2 separate regions of the Homo sapiens genome follow, and region 2 is linked to region 1. The links are contacts of gene promoters, found by promoter capture Hi-C in human tissues and cell types (Jung and others, 2019). All regions are on one chromosome and are shown on one strand. Each heading gives the region's core, a stretch centred on a gene start or on the middle of the fragment in contact. The rest is flanking DNA. Distances are from core to core; before and after follow the strand shown. Region 1 holds the start of SEPHS2 (selenophosphate synthetase 2). Region 2 holds the start of ZNF688 (zinc finger protein 688).

What was found. The method cuts DNA at HindIII sites, captures the fragments that hold promoters and counts their contacts. A contact is called where the count stands out against the background at its distance.
Region 2: the fragment with the promoter of ZNF688 here is called in contact with the fragment with the promoter of SEPHS2 in region 1 in 5 of the 25 tissues and cell types used here (IMR-90 fibroblasts, lymphoblastoid cells, mesenchymal stem cells and 2 more).

Annotation. Positions count from the first base shown.
Region 1 is chr16:30,443,389-30,449,244 of GRCh38, reverse strand. SEPHS2 (selenophosphate synthetase 2) reads left to right here and starts at 3,371. Exons shown (of 1, transcript NM_012248.4): 1 at 3,371-5,614. The coding sequence starts at 3,518. The coding sequence ends at 4,864. RefSeq lists a silencer at 3,787-3,906 and an enhancer at 3,233-4,179. The HindIII fragment of the contact is 9,223 bases long and covers 1-5,856 here.
Region 2 is chr16:30,569,122-30,574,977 of GRCh38, reverse strand. It overlaps ZNF688 (zinc finger protein 688), which reads left to right and starts at 3,264. Exons shown (of 3, transcript NM_145271.4): 1 at 3,264-3,544; 2 at 3,855-3,968; 3 at 4,542-5,252. The coding sequence starts at 3,349. The coding sequence ends at 5,062. RefSeq lists a silencer at 3,257-3,496 and enhancers at 4,359-4,922, 4,923-5,488. The HindIII fragment of the contact is 17,900 bases long and covers 1-5,856 here.

The DNA.
Region 1 (5,856 bases), core at 2,122-4,621:
TACTGTCACCTTGAACTTGAACTCCCAGGCTCAAGCGAGGTCTTCTTGTTCTTTTTTTTTTTTTGAGATGGAGTCTCACTCTGGCACCCAGACTGGAGTGCATTGGTGCGATCTCTGCTCACTGCAACCTTCGCCTCCTGGGTTCAAGTTATCCTCCTGCCTCAGCCTCTTGAGTAGCTGAAATTACAGGCATGCACCACCATGCCCGGCTAATTTTTGTATTTTTAGTAGAGACAGGGTTTCGCCATATTGGCTAGGCTGGTCTCGAACTCTTGACCTCAGGTGATCCGCTCACATTGGCCTCCCAAAGTACTGGTATTACAGGCGTGAGCCACTGCGCTCGGCCACAAATAGTAAAACATAGCTCAATGGATCTCTCAGTGAGAAATAAGAAAAGAACAAAAGGAATGCTTCCAGGTGCTGAGGCTGCAGCCCTCAGGGTCACCCTTGAGAGGCCCCTATGGGTCACCTGCACAGAGGCACATGCATGTGTCATTCTGAGCACAGCAGGTTGGTCACTGGCCAAGGCAAATTCGTGACTTTCTTTGCACTGGCCCAAGTGAATATTGCTCCAAGTAGAAGCAACAGGGAACTGTATGGATGAAAACCTTCCCCCAAAGACCTCTGCTTCCTAGAAGGGCATGGAGTAGAGGTTATGAGTATTATCAAGGAGGCCCCTCAGCCAGGTGCAGTGGCTCATGCCTGTAATCCCAGCACTTTGGGAGGCTGAGGCAGGAGGATCACCTGAGGTCAGGAGTTCGAGACCAGCCTGGCCAACATGGTGAAACCCCATCTCTACTAAAAATACAAAAATTAGGCAGGCATGGTGGCAGGTGCCTATAATCCCAGCTACTCGGGAGGCTGAGGCAGGAGAATCGCTTGAACCTGGGAGGCAGAGGTTGCAGTGAGCTGAGGTCAAGCCACTGCACTCCAGCCTGGGTGACAAAAGCAAAACTCTGTCTCAAAACAAAACAAAACAAACAAACAGAAACAACAGAGCAGCCCCTGCTCTGCAGAGCTTACAAACGAGGGGGCCAGACAGATAGGCATGGCATTATCACATGATTAAAGAATTACAGGGCCAGGCGCGGTGGCTCATGCCTGTAATCCCAGAACTTTGGGAGGCCGAAGGGGGCGGATCATGAGGTCAAGAGATCAAGACCATTCTGGCCAACATGGTGAAACCCTGTCTCACTAAAAATACAAAACATTCGTTGGTTGTGGTGGCGGGTGCCTGTAATCCCAGCTACTTGGGAGGCTGAGGAAGGAGAACTGCTTGAACCCGGGAGGTGGAGGTTGCAGTGAGCCGAGATCGCACCACTGCATTCCAGCCCGGGTGACAGTGCGAGACTCCATTTCAAAAAACAAACAAACAAAAAAAAGAATTGCAAATTGTACTAAGTGCAGAGAGGGAGAAGTCCAAAGAACTAAGAGAATGTATAACCAGCACCACCTGACCTAGTCACTTTTTAACTCAGGTGAGGTGATTACAGACATAATACAATGTTTTCCTCTTTCCCTTAGAGATATGAGGATCCTTTCCCTGTACAATAGGCTTAACATTTTGCAAAACACTTTTCAGCTGAGGTTTCCTATGGCCCTTCCACTAGATCCTAAGCAGAGATTGTGACCCTGGTTTAACAGAAGAGAAGACTAAGGTGCAGAGAGGCTAGATCACTTCCTCAAGGTCAGCCAGCTCACTGACAGCAATGCAGACATCATACAAGGTCTTTTGCTTTCACTGTATTTTCCCACTCCATCATGCTTTCTTTTTGCATGTTTTTTAAATTCTGAAATATAGCATACCTACAAAAATAGTGTGGGAAAATATCTATGTGCAGTTTTTTTTTTTTTTTTTTTTGAGACAGAGTCTCGCTCTTTCACCCAGGCTGGAGTGCAGTGGTGCAGTCTTGGCTCACTGCAACCTCTGCCTCCCAAGTTCAAGCAATTCTCCTGCCTCAGCCTCCCGAGTAGCTGGGATTATAGGCGCTCACCACCATGCCCGGCTAATTTTTGTATTTTTAGTAGAAACGGGGTTTCACCATATAGATCAAGCTGGCCTCGATCTCCCAACCTCGTGATCCACCCGCCTCGGCCTCCCAAAGTACTGGGATTACAGGTGTGAGCCACTGTGCCCGGCCCCGAAAATATCTATGTACAGTTTAAAGAACAACCATGTACCACGTACCCACCACCAGCCCAATGAACAGAATTAAACATAGCCCAGAAGCTCCCTATGTAGCCCTCCCTAGACATAGCCCCTATGCTGAGTCTTCTATTCATTTTCTTGTCTTTTAAAAAAGTTTTTATTGGCTGGGTGTGGTGGCTTATGCCTGTAATCCCAGCACTTTGGGAGGCCGAGGCCAGCAGATCACTTGAGGTCAGGAGTTTGAGACCAGCCTGGCCAACGTGGTGAAATCCCGTCTGTACTAAAAACGCAAAAATAAGCCGGGTGTGGTGGCGCACACCTGTAATCCCAGCTATTCAGGAGGCTGAAGCAGGAGAATCACTTGAACCTGGGAGGTGGAGTTTTTAATAGATATTGGCAAACTGCCCTTCATGGCTATATAAGATATATATATATATTTATTTACAGAGATATAGGAATTTTAGAATAGACCAGTCCTATGTAACCCACTCTGTTCCACAGATGGATGAGTCAACCGACGCGGAGAGTGACTCCACACAAAGCTGGTGGGAAACACCATTAGAATCCATGCAGGTGTCTGGACTTCCAGTCCTAAATCTCTCTTTTTGTGTGTGTCTGTGTGTGTGGGGGGGGTGTTTGTTTGTTTGTTATTGTTGTTTGTTTTAGAGACAGGTTCTTGCTCTGTCGCCCAGACTAGAGTGCAGTGGCGCGGACGCAGCTCACTGCAGCCTCGACCTCCTGAGTCCTAGAGTTCTTGAAGTTCCTGTTAACATTTCATTATATTGATGCTGCCTGCAGTTTGCTAACTTAATGGTAGTAGTTTAATTTCTAATTTCTCATGCTTTCTGTTTTTTCCCTTGGGCTATTTTGCCATCCTGGATCGATCATGTGCGCTGTCAAGTGACCTTTGGGACAATCCTGCCGATCATGAGGTTTGCCGAGTGACCAATCTTCCCTCGTCTACAATTTGCTGGACTTGGAAAAGTGACTGGAAGGGAGCAGAGTTCCGTCAGCCACTGCCAAGAAACCATTTAAATTACTAAGAGAGCGAAGGAAAGCACGTGACGTTCTGCAATCCCGTTGCAAGCGGTTTTGCAAGCCGGAGGTTGTTGCACCTTTTAGAGTCTAGGAAGCCCGCCTCTCGGTGGCGGAGTCGTCATTGGATGTTGCGGCTGTCAATCGCCAGGGCTATAAATAAGGGAGTCCGGCGGCTCCTCTATCAGGAAGATTGTGCATGCCGTGGGTCTGACGGCTTGAGTAGCGCTAGGGAGAATCCCTGCAGGTAATATTTGACTTTTGCTTCATATTAATCTGAGTGGAAAATAAAAGGGCCCTCTTCTCCTCTCGCTTCCCTGCCGGGCAGGCGCCATGGCGGAAGCCTCGGCGACGGGCGCCTGCGGAGAGGCGATGGCAGCGGCGGAAGGCTCCTCGGGCCCGGCGGGCTTGACTCTGGGCCGGAGCTTCTCGAACTACCGGCCCTTCGAGCCCCAGGCGTTGGGCCTCAGCCCGAGCTGGCGGCTGACGGGCTTCTCCGGCATGAAGGGCTGAGGCTGCAAGGTCCCGCAGGAGGCGCTGCTCAAACTCCTGGCGGGACTGACGCGGCCGGACGTGCGGCCCCCGCTGGGCCGGGGCCTGGTGGGTGGCCAGGAAGAGGCGTCCCAGGAAGCCGGCCTGCCGGCAGGAGCGGGCCCCAGCCCCACCTTTCCAGCCCTGGGCATCGGGATGGACTCCTGCGTCATCCCCCTGAGGCACGGGGGCCTGTCACTGGTGCAGACCACGGACTTCTTTTACCCCTTGGTAGAAGATCCCTACATGATGGGGCGCATAGCTTGTGCCAACGTGCTGAGTGACCTCTACGCCATGGGGATTACTGAGTGTGACAACATGTTGATGTTACTCAGCGTCAGCCAGAGTATGAGTGAGGAGGAACGCGAAAAGGTAACGCCACTCATGGTCAAAGGCTTTCGGGATGCGGCTGAGGAAGGAGGGACGGCAGTGACCGGTGGGCAAACGGTGGTCAACCCTTGGATTATAATCGGTGGAGTTGCCACTGTAGTATGCCAACCAAATGAGTTCATAATGCCGGACAGCGCCGTCGTTGGGGACGTGCTGGTGTTAACCAAACCGTTAGGAACCCAGGTTGCTGTCAATGCCCACCAATGGCTGGATAATCCTGAAAGATGGAATAAAGTAAAGATGGTGGTCTCCAGAGAAGAGGTGGAGCTGGCCTATCAGGAAGCCATGTTCAATATGGCTACCCTCAACAGAACTGCTGCAGGTTTAATGCACACATTTAATGCCCATGCGGCCACAGATATCACAGGCTTTGGCATTCTAGGACACTCCCAGAACCTTGCAAAACAACAAAGAAATGAAGTGTCCTTTGTTATTCATAATCTGCCAATAATTGCCAAGATGGCTGCCGTCAGCAAGGCCAGTGGACGGTTTGGGCTTCTTCAAGGAACCTCAGCTGAAACCTCTGGGGGATTACTGATTTGTCTGCCAAGAGAACAGGCGGCTCGCTTTTGTTCTGAAATCAAATCCTCCAAGTACGGAGAGGGTCACCAAGCGTGGATCGTTGGCATTGTGGAAAAGGGAAACCGAACGGCCCGGATCATTGACAAGCCGCGAGTTATTGAAGTCCTGCCTCGTGGGGCCACAGCTGCTGTTCTTGCTCCTGACAGTTCAAATGCCTCCTCTGAGCCTAGCTCGTGAGATGAAAGAACAGAAGTTGTTTGGACCTTAGAGCCATTGTCCACAATCACGGATGGTTCTCAAGAGTTGATTGTAAGAAATTTCCAAAGAAGGCTGCCTGCATAGTGGTTCCGGCTGCCCTTTCTAGGTGATTGGAATCAGCCCATCTAAAGCAGTCTTTATATGCATTCCGAGGCCAGAGTAACATTTTGAACTTTGGGGGGATATTTGTTCATCACTTGGGTAGAAGAGGAGCAAAAATACCTCTGTTTTCTCTTGCCAAAGTAAGATGAAGCTATTCCAGGTTGAGGGATTTTTCTTTGCACGGGGTTGATTAATTTCTGCACAGGGAGTGAGATTATTAAAGTAACACACACACAAAGTAAATTGCAAAATGAAAAAAATTAGAAGCAAATGAGTTTTGGACCAATATTGTTGATAAATCTAAATTGTTAAGAGAGATCTTATAATGCAACATCAAATTCTTTATTCAATTTTACTGAAGTACTGGCTCTTTCCTGCTCTGGACAAGAATTGAGCAACTTGTCTGATGACTGGGAAAGGAGGACCTGCAACCATCTGACTTGGTCTCTGTTAATGACGTCTCTCCCTCTAAACCCCATTAAGGACTGGGAGAGGCAGAGCAAGCCTCAGAGCCCAGGCCTCAGTGGTCATTAAGATGTTAAGTCTTTTGCGGCAGATTCCTGGTGATTTGATCAATAAAGAGTAATTTCTTGCTAAATAAATAAAAGAAACCTTGTTGAAAAACTATTCTGGCTAATGTTTGGTGGTTTGAAATTCAATACAGTCTTATAAAACGAACCAGCTTATACACTGAGTCTGGTATAGCAGAGAGAGAGTGTTTTCCCTGATGCTGGTGAATTGGGTAATTTAACACCCAGATTTAGGGTTGCACCTTCCCCCTGAAATGACAGAAAAGGACTCGAAGCAGGCATACGCCCCAAGGGTTAGAGAGTGGGCAGGAAATAGCAAAAGAAAGGTGTCAACAATTC
Region 2 (5,856 bases), core at 2,015-4,514, 130 kb before region 1:
CACAGAAAGGCAAATATCACATGTCCTCACTTACATGTGGGAGCTAGAAAAGTTGATCTCATGGAGGTAGAGAGTAGAATGATACCAGAGATTGGAAGGGTGTACGTGGGTGGGAGAGGTGGATGAAGAGAAGTTGGGTAATGGGTACAAACATACACTTAGGAAGAAGGGATAACTTGTAATGTTCAATAGCAGAGTAGGGTGACTGTAGTTAACAAAGTACTGTAAATTTCCATAGCTAGAAGAGAGGACTTGAAATTTTCCCAACACATAGAAATGTTAAATACTCAAAGTGATTGATACCTTAAATATCCTGACTTGATTATTGTACATTCTATGTATGAAGAAAAGCAAAATATCACATGAACTCCATAAATATGTAAAAATTTTGTGTATCAATATATTTTTTGTTTTGTTTGTTTTTTTTTTTTTTAGATGGAGTCTTGCTCTGTCACACAGGCTGGAGTGCAATGGTGTGATCTTGGCTCACTGCAACCTCTGCCTCCTGAGTTCAAGCCATTCTTGTGCCTCAGCCTCCTGAGTAGCTGGGACTACAGGCGTCCGACTCCACACCCAGCTAATTTTTGTATTTTTAGTACAGACGGGGTTTTGCCATGTTGGCCAGGCTGGTCTCGAACTCCTGACCTCAGGTGATCCTCCCGCCTTGGCCTCCCAAAGTGTTGGGATTACAGGCACAAGCCACTGTGCCCAGCCCAATTTTTTTTTCTTTTTGAGACGGGGTCTCACTCTGTCACGCAGGTTGAAGTGCAGTGGCATGATCTTGCTCACTGCAACCTCTGCTTCCTGGGTTCAAGGAATTCTTGTGCCTCAGCCTCCTGAGTAGCTGGGACTACAGGTGTGCACCACCAGACCTGGCCAATTTTTGTATTTTTAGTAGAGATGGAGTTTCAGCATGTTGCCCATGCTGGTTTCTAACTTCTGGCCTAAAGCAATCTGCCCACCTCAGCCTCCCAAAGTGCTGAGATTACAGGTGTGAGCAACTGGGCTGGGCCTAAATTAAATATTTTCAAAATTTAAAAAATACTCATTTCTAAGGATATATTTTTCCTTATATAATTTCTACAGTATTCACCACATGGAGTGCAGTGAGGCAGTTCCAGAACTCAAGGTAATAATGTAAGCATATTAATAATATTTAATTATTAACAATTAATAATTAATCAATTAATAACATATGCATATGAGATCAGCAGGAGTCACACTAAAAGCCAAAAAGCATTTCAGGTGAAAAACAGCAAGGGTAGGCCAGAAAACACAAAGAAATCTTGACTGAAAAGTCAGCAATAAAAAACACTATTGAATAAAAAGGAAGGCTCGATATACTAGGGCTGGCAGGGGAGCCAAGCAAGTAGATCCAGAGCCAGAATGACAGCAGGGACCTGGTAGGCCTTGCTTGTTATCTCCAGCAACCAGCCCCACGCTTAGCAAACAGTATTCTGCATCCTGTATGATTGCAGGTATATTCCAAATGTGGGGATGAAGGCAACTAGTATTTACAGTCCAATGCCACCAGCCATGAGGATGACCCATCTTGGCTGAAAAATAAAGACCTTAAATCTAGGAAGCGGAAGATACAACCCAGGACAGCAGGAAGGGGAGACCCGGTATGAGAAGAACTGAGGCCCAACCCAGTTTAGAGAGGAGACTGAAGGCTAAAGGAGGAAGGTTTCCCAGGAAAAAAAAAATTAGGATTTGAAAGTTGATGCTATCTTTGATAATTTGGAACAACGTAAATAAGTAGAAATGGCAGGGCCGGGCGCCGTGGCTCACGCCTGTAATCCCAGCACTTTGGGAGGCTGAGGCGGGAGGATCACCTGAGGTCGGGAGTTCGAGACCAGCCTGACTTAATATGGAGAAACCCCGTCTCTACTAAAAATACAAAATTAGACGGGCATGGTGGCTCATGCCTGTAATCCCAGCTACTTGGGAGGCTGAGGCAGGAGAATCGCTTGAACCTGGGAGGCGAAGGTTGCGGTGAGCCTAGATAGCGCCATTGCACTCCAGCCTGGGCAAGCCGAGATAGCGCCATTGCACTCCAGCCTGGGCAACAAGAGTAAAACTCCTTCTCAAAGAAAAAGTAGAAATGGCTGGGAACCGTGGCGCATGCCTGTAATCACAGCACTTTGGGAGGCCGAGGCAGGAGAATTGCTTGAGGCCAGGAGTTCCAGACCAGCCTGGGCAACATAGCAAGACCCTGTCTCTGTTTTAAAATTTAAAAATTAGCCAAGCATTGGGTGTGCGCCTGTGGTCCCAGCTACTCGGGAGGCTGAGGTGAGAAGATCGCTTCAGCCCGGGAGGTCGAGTCTGCAGTGAGCTAGGATCGCACTGCTGGGCCACAGAGCAAGACCCTGTCTCAAAACAAACAAAAAATAAATTCATGTATGTTAGCAACAATTACTATTTAATTTAAAACTTCCCCATTCCGATTCCATCCTCACCAAGCACGTTCCTTCGCCTGCAGCTTCGGTCTAGAGCCTGAGCGAGCCGAGCTGCGGATGCCAGGGGCTGGGTGGACTCCGCAGCTAAGCTACTGTAAAACACGCACCTGCTTCTACCGCGGGTGTACACATGGTTTGCCAGGGTGTGCGCGTCTTCCCAAGGGGTCTGGGGACCAAATTCCAGCTCCCGCCATCGGGAGGCACGGTAAGAGACCGTAGGGGACACAATCCCGAGCACCGCAGATGCCGAGGTCTCCGCTGCGCTCCAGTCTGTCAACAGAGGCTTCAGGACCGCGGGGTCCCTTCAAATGCCCCGCCAGTCCCAGGCCAATCACCGCGCAGCTTCTTCCGGGATCGTCGCCAATCATCGGCCGTTGCGTATTGCGGGTACAGAGGGGTAAGTGAAGCTTCGGGCCCTTACATCTTTCTTGAAGGCAAGAAGCCTCTCCTCTACTTCCCAGACACCCCGCCTCCCCCACTAGAAAAAGCAGCCGAAGCGGCTTTATTTAAGGGCAAGTGGGACGATGAGGCCAGAGAAGTCAGAAAGGCTCCATATTTGATATGGTCAAATAATGGCGCCCTTAAGAGCAGCCTGTGACAATTGAAGGGTGGTCGCCATATTTTCAGAAGGCACCTTCCGGGTCCCTTAACCCGGGTGTCTATGTCCAAGCGGCCATGAAGTGAATAAACACTGAGGAATTATATTTGTCCCTATCAGAATCCTCGAATCCCTAGCAGCCAGTCCCTGCTACTTCGGTTGCCTCGGCTGCGTTCGGACGCCACGGCTGGGCGGGGCCGCCCTTCCTGTGGACAACGACAGCTGAGGCCGGGAGCGGGGAGGCGGCGGCTCCAGGGACCTGGCGGCCGCCGATCGGGGCTGCGAGGCCCCATGGCGCCGCCCCCAGCCCCGCTCCTGGCGCCGAGGCCCGGGGAGACCCGGCCTGGTTGCAGGAAGCCCGGGACTGTGAGCTTCGCGGACGTGGCCGTGTACTTCTCCCCGGAGGAGTGGGGCTGTCTGCGGCCCGCGCAGAGGGCTCTGTACCGGGACGTGATGCAGGAGACCTACGGCCACCTGGGCGCGCTCGGTGAGAGCCCCGGGTCCGAGCCCCCTCCTCCTTCACCGGGTTCACAGGGGAGATGATGTAGAAGGGCCGAGAGGACTGTGAGCCCTAATCCCGCACTCTTGCACCAACACCAGCAGCCACCTCCCGTTCCCAGGGCTTCAGGTACCCCCTCGGGAGTGTTTTCACCCGCATCCATTTCATTCAGGCAGCAGCACTGCAGCCCCTTCCAGGTTGAGTATAAGCTCCGAGGGGGTGCCCTCAGCCTGGAGGGGAATGCCATCTTCCCACGATGGCCTCTCAGGCCCGCGCTGTGATCCCTGTTCTCTCCCAGGATTCCCAGGCCCCAAACCAGCCCTCATCTCTTGGATGGAACAGGAGAGTGAGGCTTGGAGCCCCGCCGCCCAGGATCCTGAGAAGGGGGAAAGACTGGGAGGAGCTCGGAGAGGTGAGGGATAGTCCCGGGTCCCCCCACTTGGTTTTCCAGGGCTTCCTGTCTAGCAGAGTTTCTTTTCAGGCCCCCACTTCCAGCATCCCTAAAGAAATTCAACTGTGTTGGGTACTAGAGGAGTAAAGAAGGCAGACCTGGTACAAAGTTTTCAGAACATGGGACAGCGGTCCTGTGAGGACTGGGAGCCCAGTCCAACCAGGCACTCCAGCCTGGGTGACAGAGTGAGACTCCGTCTCAAAAATAAATAAATAAATAAATAAATAAATAAATAAATAAATAAATAATAGCCCCTGCTTCCTGAGCACTTCCTAAGTGCTTAACATGCATCTACTCAGCTAAACCAGTAACGCTGTGAAGTCAAAAGCCATTATTATTCCCATTTGATGCATAAGGAACCAAGGCTCAGATAAGGCACTTTTAGGAGATCTGAATCCTGTTTACCTTGTTCTAAAGCCTGTGTGTTAATCACTGGACAGAACTTCCCTCACTGCCTTAAGTGAAAAGCATTCTATAACCTGAGACAGTCTGTGCAAAAGTGTTTGTAAGTGTAACTTAATTCCGGTTTCCCAGGAGATGTCCCAAACAGGAAGGAAGAGGAACCGGAGGAAGTCCCAAGAGCCAAAGGGCCTAGAAAGGCTCCTGTGAAGGAGAGTCCTGAAGTGCTGGTGGAACGCAACCCTGACCCAGCTATTAGCGTGGCCCCGGCACGGGCACAGCCACCCAAAAATGCTGCCTGGGACCCGACCACAGGAGCACAGCCCCCGGCACCCATACCCAGCATGGATGCTCAGGCCGGCCAGCGGCGCCACGTGTGCACGGACTGCGGCCGCCGCTTCACCTACCCCTCACTGCTGGTCAGCCACAGGCGCATGCACTCGGGGGAGCGGCCTTTCCCCTGCCCCGAGTGTGGCATGCGCTTCAAGAGGAAGTTCGCAGTGGAAGCGCACCAGTGGATCCACCGCTCCTGCTCCGGGGGGCGGCGGGGCCGGAGGCCTGGGATCCGGGCTGTGCCTCGGGCCCCCGTCCGAGGTGACCGGGACCCGCCTGTGCTCTTCCGGCACTACCCAGACATCTTCGAGGAGTGCGGCTGAGCGGCACCGCAGGCTGGAGTTGAGCCTGACCTTGGCACGAAGGACTGACGGATCCCTGAGGTGGGCCACTGAGTCGGGGACTCCGGAACTGAAATTCATGCCCTGGGCTTTCCTCAAGGATCCCTCAAGTTTCCAACTTGTAAAAAGAAAAGTGCCTGTAAAGATTCGAATAGATTAGACTTGCCACCCATCTCCCCAGTCTTTTGTTTAACAAAAAAAAAAAAAAAAAAAAAAAAAAAGAAGAGAGTGAGACCCTGGACTCATTTCAAAGTGTTATCTGAAGATCAGGTGCAACAGAGACCTTTATATCATCTCAGGAACTAGCCACTCCTTATCTATTTCAGATGCAGATGCTGAGGGGGACCAGGGCCTGGGGAGGGGACCTACATGGAGGGCGTGGTCAAACCCTGGCTAATTGTCATCAGCAGGGGACCCAGACACTGGAGTGGATGGGAGTAGAATAGATGCAGGTGGCACAAATCCAGCCTCTGTTGGGAGACCAAGGAGGGAGGATCGTTTGAGTCCAGGAGTTCAGACCAGCCTGAGCAACAGGCTATCTAGCGATATCTAGATATCTAGGATATCACTATCTAGAGATAGTGAAATCCTATCTCTACAAAAAAAAAAAAAAAAAATGAACCAGGCATAGTGGCACATCGTGCCTGTGGTCCCAGCCACTTGGGAGGCTGAGGTGGGAGGACTGCTTGAGCCCAGGAGTTCAAGGCTACAGTGAGCTATGATTGTGCCACTGTACTACAGTCTGGGCAACAGAGCAAGACTTCATTTCTTTCTTT